2 separate regions of the Homo sapiens genome follow, and region 1 is linked to region 2. Evidence: promoter capture Hi-C in 16 types of primary human blood cells and fetal thymus (Javierre and others, 2016). All regions are on one chromosome and are shown on one strand. The core of a region is centred on a gene start or on the middle of the fragment in contact, and the rest is flanking DNA. Distances in the headings are between cores, read along the strand shown. Region 1 overlaps USP37 (ubiquitin specific peptidase 37). Region 2 holds the start of PLCD4 (phospholipase C delta 4).

Region 1 (4,133 bases), core at 1,111-3,610, 130 kb before region 2:
TAAACTAAAGAAAAAAGTGGTAAAGGTCAAAGAACAAGAACTTTCTTTGATGGAGGTTAACACAAATTCATATGCAATACAAAAAATATATATAAAATGAAAACTAGAAAATACAATTAACCTGAATGTAAAAACTGAAAATAAACATATAGACTAATGGCACCAAGAAATAAGAGGCCAGAGTGGAAATCAGGAAGATTACATAGCAATGTAGATCAAAGAAAAGAGGCAAGTGGTCAGTGATAAGCCCAAACATAGTGTGTGGCTCAGAGCAGCCAGGATATCACTGCACTCCAACCTGAACACTTGAAAAGCCTCCCATGTGCTCAAAAGGGTTTTTAGTATAATAGCCAATTAGCCATCTTAATTCCTCAATTCAGATTTCACGCTCACCAAGCAAACCTGAACATATTAATTTGTTTACCCAGATAAATATTTTGCTGAAGGAGGATGACACCTGGCTACCATTGCACCAGGGTAAATTTGTGACAAAGGACATTGTAGAAGAATCAATGGTATTCTGGTTCATAACTCAGCCTCTTTTAAGTTTGATCGGCATGACAGGTCTTCTAGGGCCTAATCATTCTTTATTGATCAACTCCCAAATTTTCATACCAGCAGACCCTGGAGAACAGATGACCATGCCAAGGTACAATGATGCCCAATGAAATCATTTCTTTCTTGAAACTACAGTGACTTGGTACATAGAGTGCATTCCATTAATGATTACTATATTTACAGAAGGCAGCTTGCCTGTAGCAATGAAAAATATTCATCCTGTAAATGCATCACTTGCTCACTTTCTAAGCAGCCAAGTGGTATTGCTCATTTGTATCTTGAGAACGGGCAAGAGTATTCATATCGGTACCATTTCAGATTTCTAGTCATGTTAGTCATCTGGTTTTAATTGCACTGAAAAATAATTAACAGGAGGAAAAGAAAATAGCAGTTCCCAAATGTCATTTTATGGTTATATAAGCCCCCCAAAAGCCCTTAAACAACAAAAATGTCTCTTCTCTAAAAGTACTTTGGGCCATCAAATTTTTAGAAAAATTAATTAAAAAGTCAAACGACAACTAAATCAATTGAAATGATCTAATCAGGAACTCCTCTAGTAAAATCTTAGAGGAAATATATTTAAAAAGCAAACAAAAAAGGCATGTGCTTCCCTCCTTGGATAAAGTTTGGTCTTAAACAAAAAAATAGGGCATTTGTAGAATGCTTGCTTGTTTTCCTGTCCCCTTTCAAAACAACTCCTATTCGGTGTCAAAGACAAGAAGTTCCAGACTGGCTAACAACAGGTAAAAAATGTTTTGGGATTCCATGCCTATCTTTAAGGAAGAGTGCTTTAGACTAATAGGGGTTATTTTATCCCTTAAATCCCTAGACTCCCTTGTCCTCAGTTAATTTTTAGAGTTTTAGGATGAAAGTATTACATATTAACAATAATAAGTTTTTAAAAGTTTTAAGACAGAATATTGAGAGGATGAGCTAACCTTGTGTCACTGATTAAAATTTGTTATATCCTTCAATATATTCTAAACCAAATTCAGGAAAGTTTCAAAAGTATAGGTAATAAAGAGCATTATCATGCAAAAAGAAAAACAATAATGAAAAGGCAGGGAGGCAATCTTGGAGATTAGGGTAAGCCAAAACCTTAAACACAGATTTTGGGTACATAAGAAATATAACTCACTTTGAAGGTGTAGAAGGGCTGGTGATGCAGGAATTCACCATTTGAGAGGCTTTCAATGGTCTAGAACTATCAGAAAATTAGAAAATATATAATGTATACAAATGAATTATTAAAGATATATATTTAAATTATAAAATGAATTATTCTTACTATAATTCCTTTTATGTCCTCTTGAAAATTGAACAATTATAATACTTTTTAAATTACTAGCAATAGGCCAGGTGCAGTGGTTCACGCCTGTAATCCCAGCACTTTGGGAAGCTAAGTGGGCGAATCACCTGAGGTCAGGAGTTCAAGTCCAGCCTGGCCAACATGGTGAAACCCTGTCTCTACTAAAAATACAAAAATTAGCTGGGTTTGGCGGCGGGTGCTTGTAATCCCAGCTACTCGGGAGGCTGAGGCATGAGAATTGCTTGAACCTGGGAGGCGGAGGTTGTAGTAAGTGGTGATCGCACCACTGCACTCCAGCTTGGGCAACGGAGTGAGACTCCATCTCAAAAAAAAAAAAAATGGCCGGGCATGGTGGCTCATGAGGTCAGGAGATCGAGACCATCCTGGCTAACATAGTGAAAACCCGTTTCTACTAAAAAAATACAAAAAATCAGCCGGGCATGGTGGCAGGCGCCTGTAGTCCCAGCTACGCGGGAGGCTGACGCAGGAGAATGGCGTGAAGCCGGGAGGCGCAGCTTGCAGTAAGCGGAGATGCGCCACTGCACTCCAGCCTGGGCGACAGAGCGAGACTCCGTCTCAAAAAAAAAAAAAAAAAAAAAAAAAATACTAGCAATAGAGGCCAAAAGAGAAAATAAAATACCATCTCTAGGCTCTCCTTGATCCAATAATCTACATAGACAGCACTGGAAATGAAGTCAAGTGTAATACATATGAAAAAAATAACTTGGAGAAAATTACCTTGTCTCAGTTCTTTTAAAGTAATAGCTCTCATTTATGGAGGATTTACTGGATGTCAGACACTGTGCTAAGAACTCTACATATTATTACCTCATTTAATGTTCACAACCATCCTATTGTTTTTCTTATAGACAAGTCAAGGAATCTGTGCAAGGTCTAAAAGCTATCAAATTGTACAGTCAGATAGCTTGGCTTCAGGCCTGTGATCATACACTATTAGTGTGACATAGTACTACTGCCAGCAAGAGTAATAGCTCTACCAGCAGAAGGTAGTATGCACCAAGCAAAAACGTGAAAAGCTGTGAGAGGAAAAAACCAGAAACACTTAGACTCTCTGGGCACATGCCTTTATTAGTAGACCCTTGAGACACTAGTGTAAACTTCTATGAGACGTGGCTCTTTCAGACACTAACTGTATGACTTTAGGAAAATCATTTAATTTCCTTGGTCCTCTTAAGGGTTTGGACAAAAACCTCTAAAATCTCTTCCATCTTCAAAGTTCTACAATTTTATTATTCTACCAAACTAGTGTTCAAGTATAGAAAAGAATGACATAACATATGGCTTCAAAGTAATGCAAGTATGTAGAAAAAAGGGGAACACTCAAAGAAGTCCGAAGGTTTTCCCAGCATACATGATGAAGCAAAAACCTAAAGTAAAGATTACTTCTTTTTTTCTTGAGAAATTTCAGGAGCCATTTAAGTTCTTTACACTGCTGATAATATATGCATGAAGGCATAACATTGAGTATAGGGTTTCTCACATCTGCATGTCCTGAAGAGTCAACTGAAGCATTTGCTAAAAATATTGATTCCTAAGCGCCTATCTCAGACCTACTGAAACAGAACTTCCAGGGAAAAAACACAAAAATCAGTATTTTTAGTGTCTAGGTGACTCTTATTATCACCTAAGTTTGACTCATATTCAAGAAGTATATCAAACTGTCTTCTAGCACTCTAACCAAGAGCACTTCCTAAAAAAGCACCTCACTATGAAAAGCAACTAATAACTTTGGAAAAATTTTAAGCATTTTCTTCAATTACTTCAGGCAGTGATTTAACACTAAAACAAAGTAAAGCAAAATTAAAATCTCCTTCTTGGTCTGATTTCTTTTCTTTTCTTTTCTTTTTTTTTTTTTTTTTGAGATAGGGTCTTGCTCTGATCACCATTCACTGCAGCCTTCATCTCCCAGGCTCCAGCAATCCTCCCACCTCAGCCTCGAGTAGCTGGCACTACAGGTGTGTGCCACCATGCTGGCTTTATTATTTTATTTTTTGTAGAGATGAGGTCATGCTCTGTTGCCATAGGTGGTTTCAAACTCCTAGGCTCAAGCGATTCTCCTGCCTCAGCCTCCCAAAGTGCTGGGATTACAGGCATGAGCCACTGCATCTGGCCATTGATCTGATTTTACCTTGGAGTCATATTATGTAATTCAGTCATTCTTTTGATTAGATACTAAAGCCTTTCTATTTCAAAAGGGAATATAAAGACATAGTCTCTCAAGGACTTACATTGCCATATGTGCACT
Region 2 (4,262 bases), core at 753-3,252:
CTGAAGAATACTGTTGTATTCATGGGAACATTGAAACAGAATATTTGAGATCTAGACTCTCCCAGAAAATCCACTATGAGTGATAACACCCCTCACAGATTACCCAAGAGGGAAGGAGGTTGGGCAGCATTAAATTGATGCAAATAGTGACTCAGAAAGATGGTATATAATCTGGGGGTATAGAAGAGGAGTGTGGACTGTGAAGGTGAGGCTTGGAAAAATAAGCTGGCCATGTTGGGGAAGTAGAAATGGGAGAGCAAGACAAGCATGTAAAACAGGGCCTCTATTAAGTCAAATCTGAAATCAGCACAGTTTAAACTACGATGCCCCCCAATCTTCCTGTTCCCCATGAATGGCCTCCCTCCTAATGTGTCCCCTTCCTTCATACTACTACTCTTCTATCAAAACCTGCTCTCAGTAAAGAATATAGACAACCCAACCTAGGTATAAATTATTTAAAATCTACTTTGACCTTAGGATTGAATTTTTAAAAAATTATTTATAATCGGCTGGGTGCAGTGGCTTACGCCTGTAATCCTAGCACTTTGGGAGGCCAAGGCAGGTGGATTGCCTGAGCTCAGGAGCTCAAGACCAGCCTGGGCAACACGGTGAAACCCCGTCTCTACTAAAATACAAAAAAAAGTAGCTGGGGGTGGTGGCATGCACCTGTAATCCCAGCTACTCAGGAGGCTGAGACAGGAGAATTGCTTGAACCCGGGAGGTAGAGGTTGCAGTAAGCCAAGATCACGCCATTGCACTCCAGCCTGGGCAACAGCGAGACTCTTATCTCAAAAAAAAAAAAAAAAAAAAAAAAAAATATATATATATATATATATACACACACACACATATACATATACATATATGTATATTTAAAATCATTAAGCCTTCAAAAGTTAACACAGATATATGATATTTTAAATGAGACCTAAAAAAATAAATTTAAAAACACATATAGAAAATATATCAAGAGAATGTATAGCTTAATAAATTATTAAGTGAAGACCCTTGTTAGCACTTAGAACTAGAAATAGAGTTTAGCTAGCTATGCCAGAAGCCCCCTCTGTGTCCCATCTCACCACAATTCCTCCCCCTCCCAACAGTAACCACTATCCTGACTTTTATAGTAATCACTTAGGAGGATTTTATTTTAATGGGACTAAAAAATGTAGCTATAATCACTAATGGTAAAATATTAGGCAGTTGAGGGATGCTTGTGGAAACCATGATAGGCAGCCAGACGTCAGCACACTTAAAATTACACCATTTCACACAGTTCCCCTCTGAGCCTATGCTTCATCTCTGCACACATCTTTATAAACATGCATGTATGTCCTGAAGGTGCTACCTCCATTCTGAGGGCTATGACTTATAACCCAGAGGTGCTGAACAGATGCTTGTAGGAGGAACGAATGGATGTTTAAAAAAAAATGAGCTGTTTCACACGTTCATCTATGCATTCTTTCAATATTTAATGAGTGCCTAAAATATACATAGATTCTAACCTATCTGTCCCTCTACATTCTATCATCATTCCTGTCCTCCCCTTCTCCTCGTCTTCCTCTTTTCCCATCTTATTTCTTTCTTTTCCTGTGGGACGGAGCTACAGTGAGTGCCCTGCAGGCAGGATTCAGAGATACAGGAGCAGGCCAGTGGAAACAGACACTATGGAAAGGAGCCAGATTAAATAAGGGCAAAAACAGCCGTATTACATGCAGGAACCAGAATGAAAAGCAGTGATTCACAGAGCACTGCAACTGAGGACACTCCCTTCACTTTGAGAGCTACTGCGGGATTGGGGTCAATGAGGGCTGGCATCAAGATGAAGGGCAGCCAGGCTCCTCCCTGGAGATGTGCTGCCCTTAATCCTTCTCTCCCCACCCCACCCCCACTACTCCCTCACATTGACCAGTGTCCTGGGCCTTTAAGAGTTGGATGGGCTGGACTGGAGAGAGCTCACACCTCTCCCCTTCTTACTGCTTCCCTCCGGCTATAACTTGCCAGTCACAGCAGCCAGCTGCTGTAGAAGAGGGGAGGAAACAAGCCAGTGCAAGGGGAGCAAAAGAGAAAAGGAGCCAGGCTGGGCTTCCTGATCCCACAGCATCGCAGAGCTCGGGAGGCACAGCTCACAGACACAGGAAACACAGGACTGCTATTCTGCTCTCCTGCCCACGGTAAGGATCTGGAAGCTCTGACTACCCTCTGCTCTAAGCTCTGTCTTCCCTGAGTCCCTACCTCTGCCCTCTAGATGCTTATCCACCCTGATTAAATTGTACCCTAGACTCCTTTCCTCATCCCAACAGCTCTACAGGGCTCCCACCTCCTGGTTCTCTCTAGCTTATCCTCCTTTATCCTTACAGCTTTCCTCCTGGCTGTGTCAGTCGCCCTTTATATGAGGTACCTCTTAGCTTATGCAGGGCCAGAAGTGCCAACCCTAGCCACTCCTGAGGTGAACTCCACCCCCAATAAGGGAAGAAAAAATTGGAGTAGCTAAGCTTTAGCATAGATTCATTAACAGTTTGTTGAGGGTTGCAAAATAGGGGTTGGCCAAGAACCATGGGGAATCAGAGATCCCTGGTAATAGAGAGAGTTATGAAAGTCCCTTAGAAAGTTCTCTAAAGAACTTGTTCTTTGCCTATTCCATGGGCCAGAGCAGTTTCTTAGTGCACCAGAGTGCTACGTTGGTAAGAAAACCTACTTCTAGTTCTGCCTGTGCCATTAACTAGCTACGGGACCTGGAGCCACAACTTCCAGATCTGTGATACGAGAGAGTTTAGGGTTTCCCAGACTTGCCTGTGTACCAAGTGTACTTGTTAAAAATAAATATATTATTGAGCCCCACCCTGGGTAACTCTGATCTGGTAGATTTTTGGGTAGGGCTAAGGATCTCAATTTCAAGACATTCCAGAGGCTATTGATGTAGCTGGGAATGTCTGGATTAGATGTGTTATAAAAGAACTGGCCGGGCGCGGTGGCTCACACCTGTAATCCCAGCACTTTGGGAGGCCGAGGCGGGTGGATCACGAGGTCAGGAGATTGAGACCATCCTGGCTAACATGGTGAAACCCCGTCTCTACTGAAAATACAAAAAATTAGCCGGGCGAGGTGGGTGGCGGGTGCCTGTAGTCCCAGCTACTCGGGAGGCTGAGGCAGGAGAATAGCGTGAACCCCGGGGGGCGGAGCCTGCAGTGAGCCAAGATCGCACCACTGCACTCCAGCCTGGGCGACAGCGAGACTCTGTCTCAAAAAAAAAAAAAAAAAGAACCTTCAAGCTCCAACATTCTGTGACCTGTGACCAGAGCCAATTTGTCCTCTATATGAACCAGGTTAGGCATAATCCTTCTCAGAAGCAAGGGAGTAGACAAAATGATTCTCTTCTTTCTTGCCCCTCAGAGAGACCTGAGACACCCTGAATCCCACTGTAATCTCCTTGGTGCCATTGGTAACTCTGCCAAAGTCCATCTCTAGGTGACATGAAGTCTCTTAGAAATTGAGGACCAAATTGCGCTCTGCAGCTCTGGGCTACTTCCCATCTCATTTTGTGTCCCTATTTTCGTATCTGTATTAGAGAGGTAATTACCATATCATTGAAGATCTCCATATATGTGTCTATGAGTTAATATTTAAGACCAACCTTTCTTATTATCAGATGTCATCCTCTGTGTTTTTCCCAGTGCCCTCACTCCCAAACCCTTTGTTCCTTCTCTTCTCATTGCACCTGCATCAGCTGTGGGCATCCTTCCCATTCTACCATTAGACACCAGAGGAAACAGCAAGACCTAGAATACCTAGGTTCTAACTCACATTGTCTGGGCAGTTTGTTTGGTCAATCTCCTAGGATACAGAGAAAAGTGAGGCTGAGCAGAGGGACACGCATGCTACTGAGTTCTGAACCCAAGTGTCCTCCCTTCTGGACCACAGTCTCAAAATTCTCAAAGGAGATGAGACTCAGAGCCATTGCGAATTAGTGGAGTCAAAAGAGGGAACCAACTGGAAGAGGTGATGGGGAGAAGGGATGAGGAGAAGGAAGAGAAGAGGAGAGACTGACCTAGGTGAGCAAACAGGAAGACAGAGGATTAAGAGAGAGAGAGAGGTGGGGATGGGGCTGGGCATGATGGCTCACGCCTGTAATCCCAGCACTTTGGGAAGCCCAGGCAGGAGGATTGCTTGAGGCCAGGAGTTTAAAACTAGGGCTACACAGGGAGACCCCATCTCCATACAAAACAAATAATAATTTAAAAAAAATTTTTTTTATAGTGAAC

Evidence for each region. Contacts are between HindIII fragments. The CHiCAGO score rates a contact against its expected background, and 5 or more counts as called.
Region 1: a fragment that was not itself captured here is called in contact with the fragment with the promoter of PLCD4 in region 2 in 1 of 17 cell types (M1 macrophages); the score reaches 5.9 in M1 macrophages.

Annotation. Positions count from the first base shown.
Region 1 is chr2:218,477,954-218,482,086 of GRCh38, forward strand. USP37 (ubiquitin specific peptidase 37) reads right to left here. Exons shown (of 26, transcript NM_020935.3): 17 at 4,117-4,133; 18 at 1,697-1,762. Among named protein-coding and RNA genes, the nearest start is that of VIL1, 61 kb to the left of the region's middle. The HindIII fragment of the contact is 4,909 bases long and covers 1-4,133 here.
Region 2 is chr2:218,605,897-218,610,158 of GRCh38, forward strand. PLCD4 (phospholipase C delta 4) reads left to right here and starts at 2,003. Exons shown (of 16, transcript NM_032726.4): 1 at 2,003-2,174. The HindIII fragment of the contact is 12,670 bases long and covers 1-2,493 here.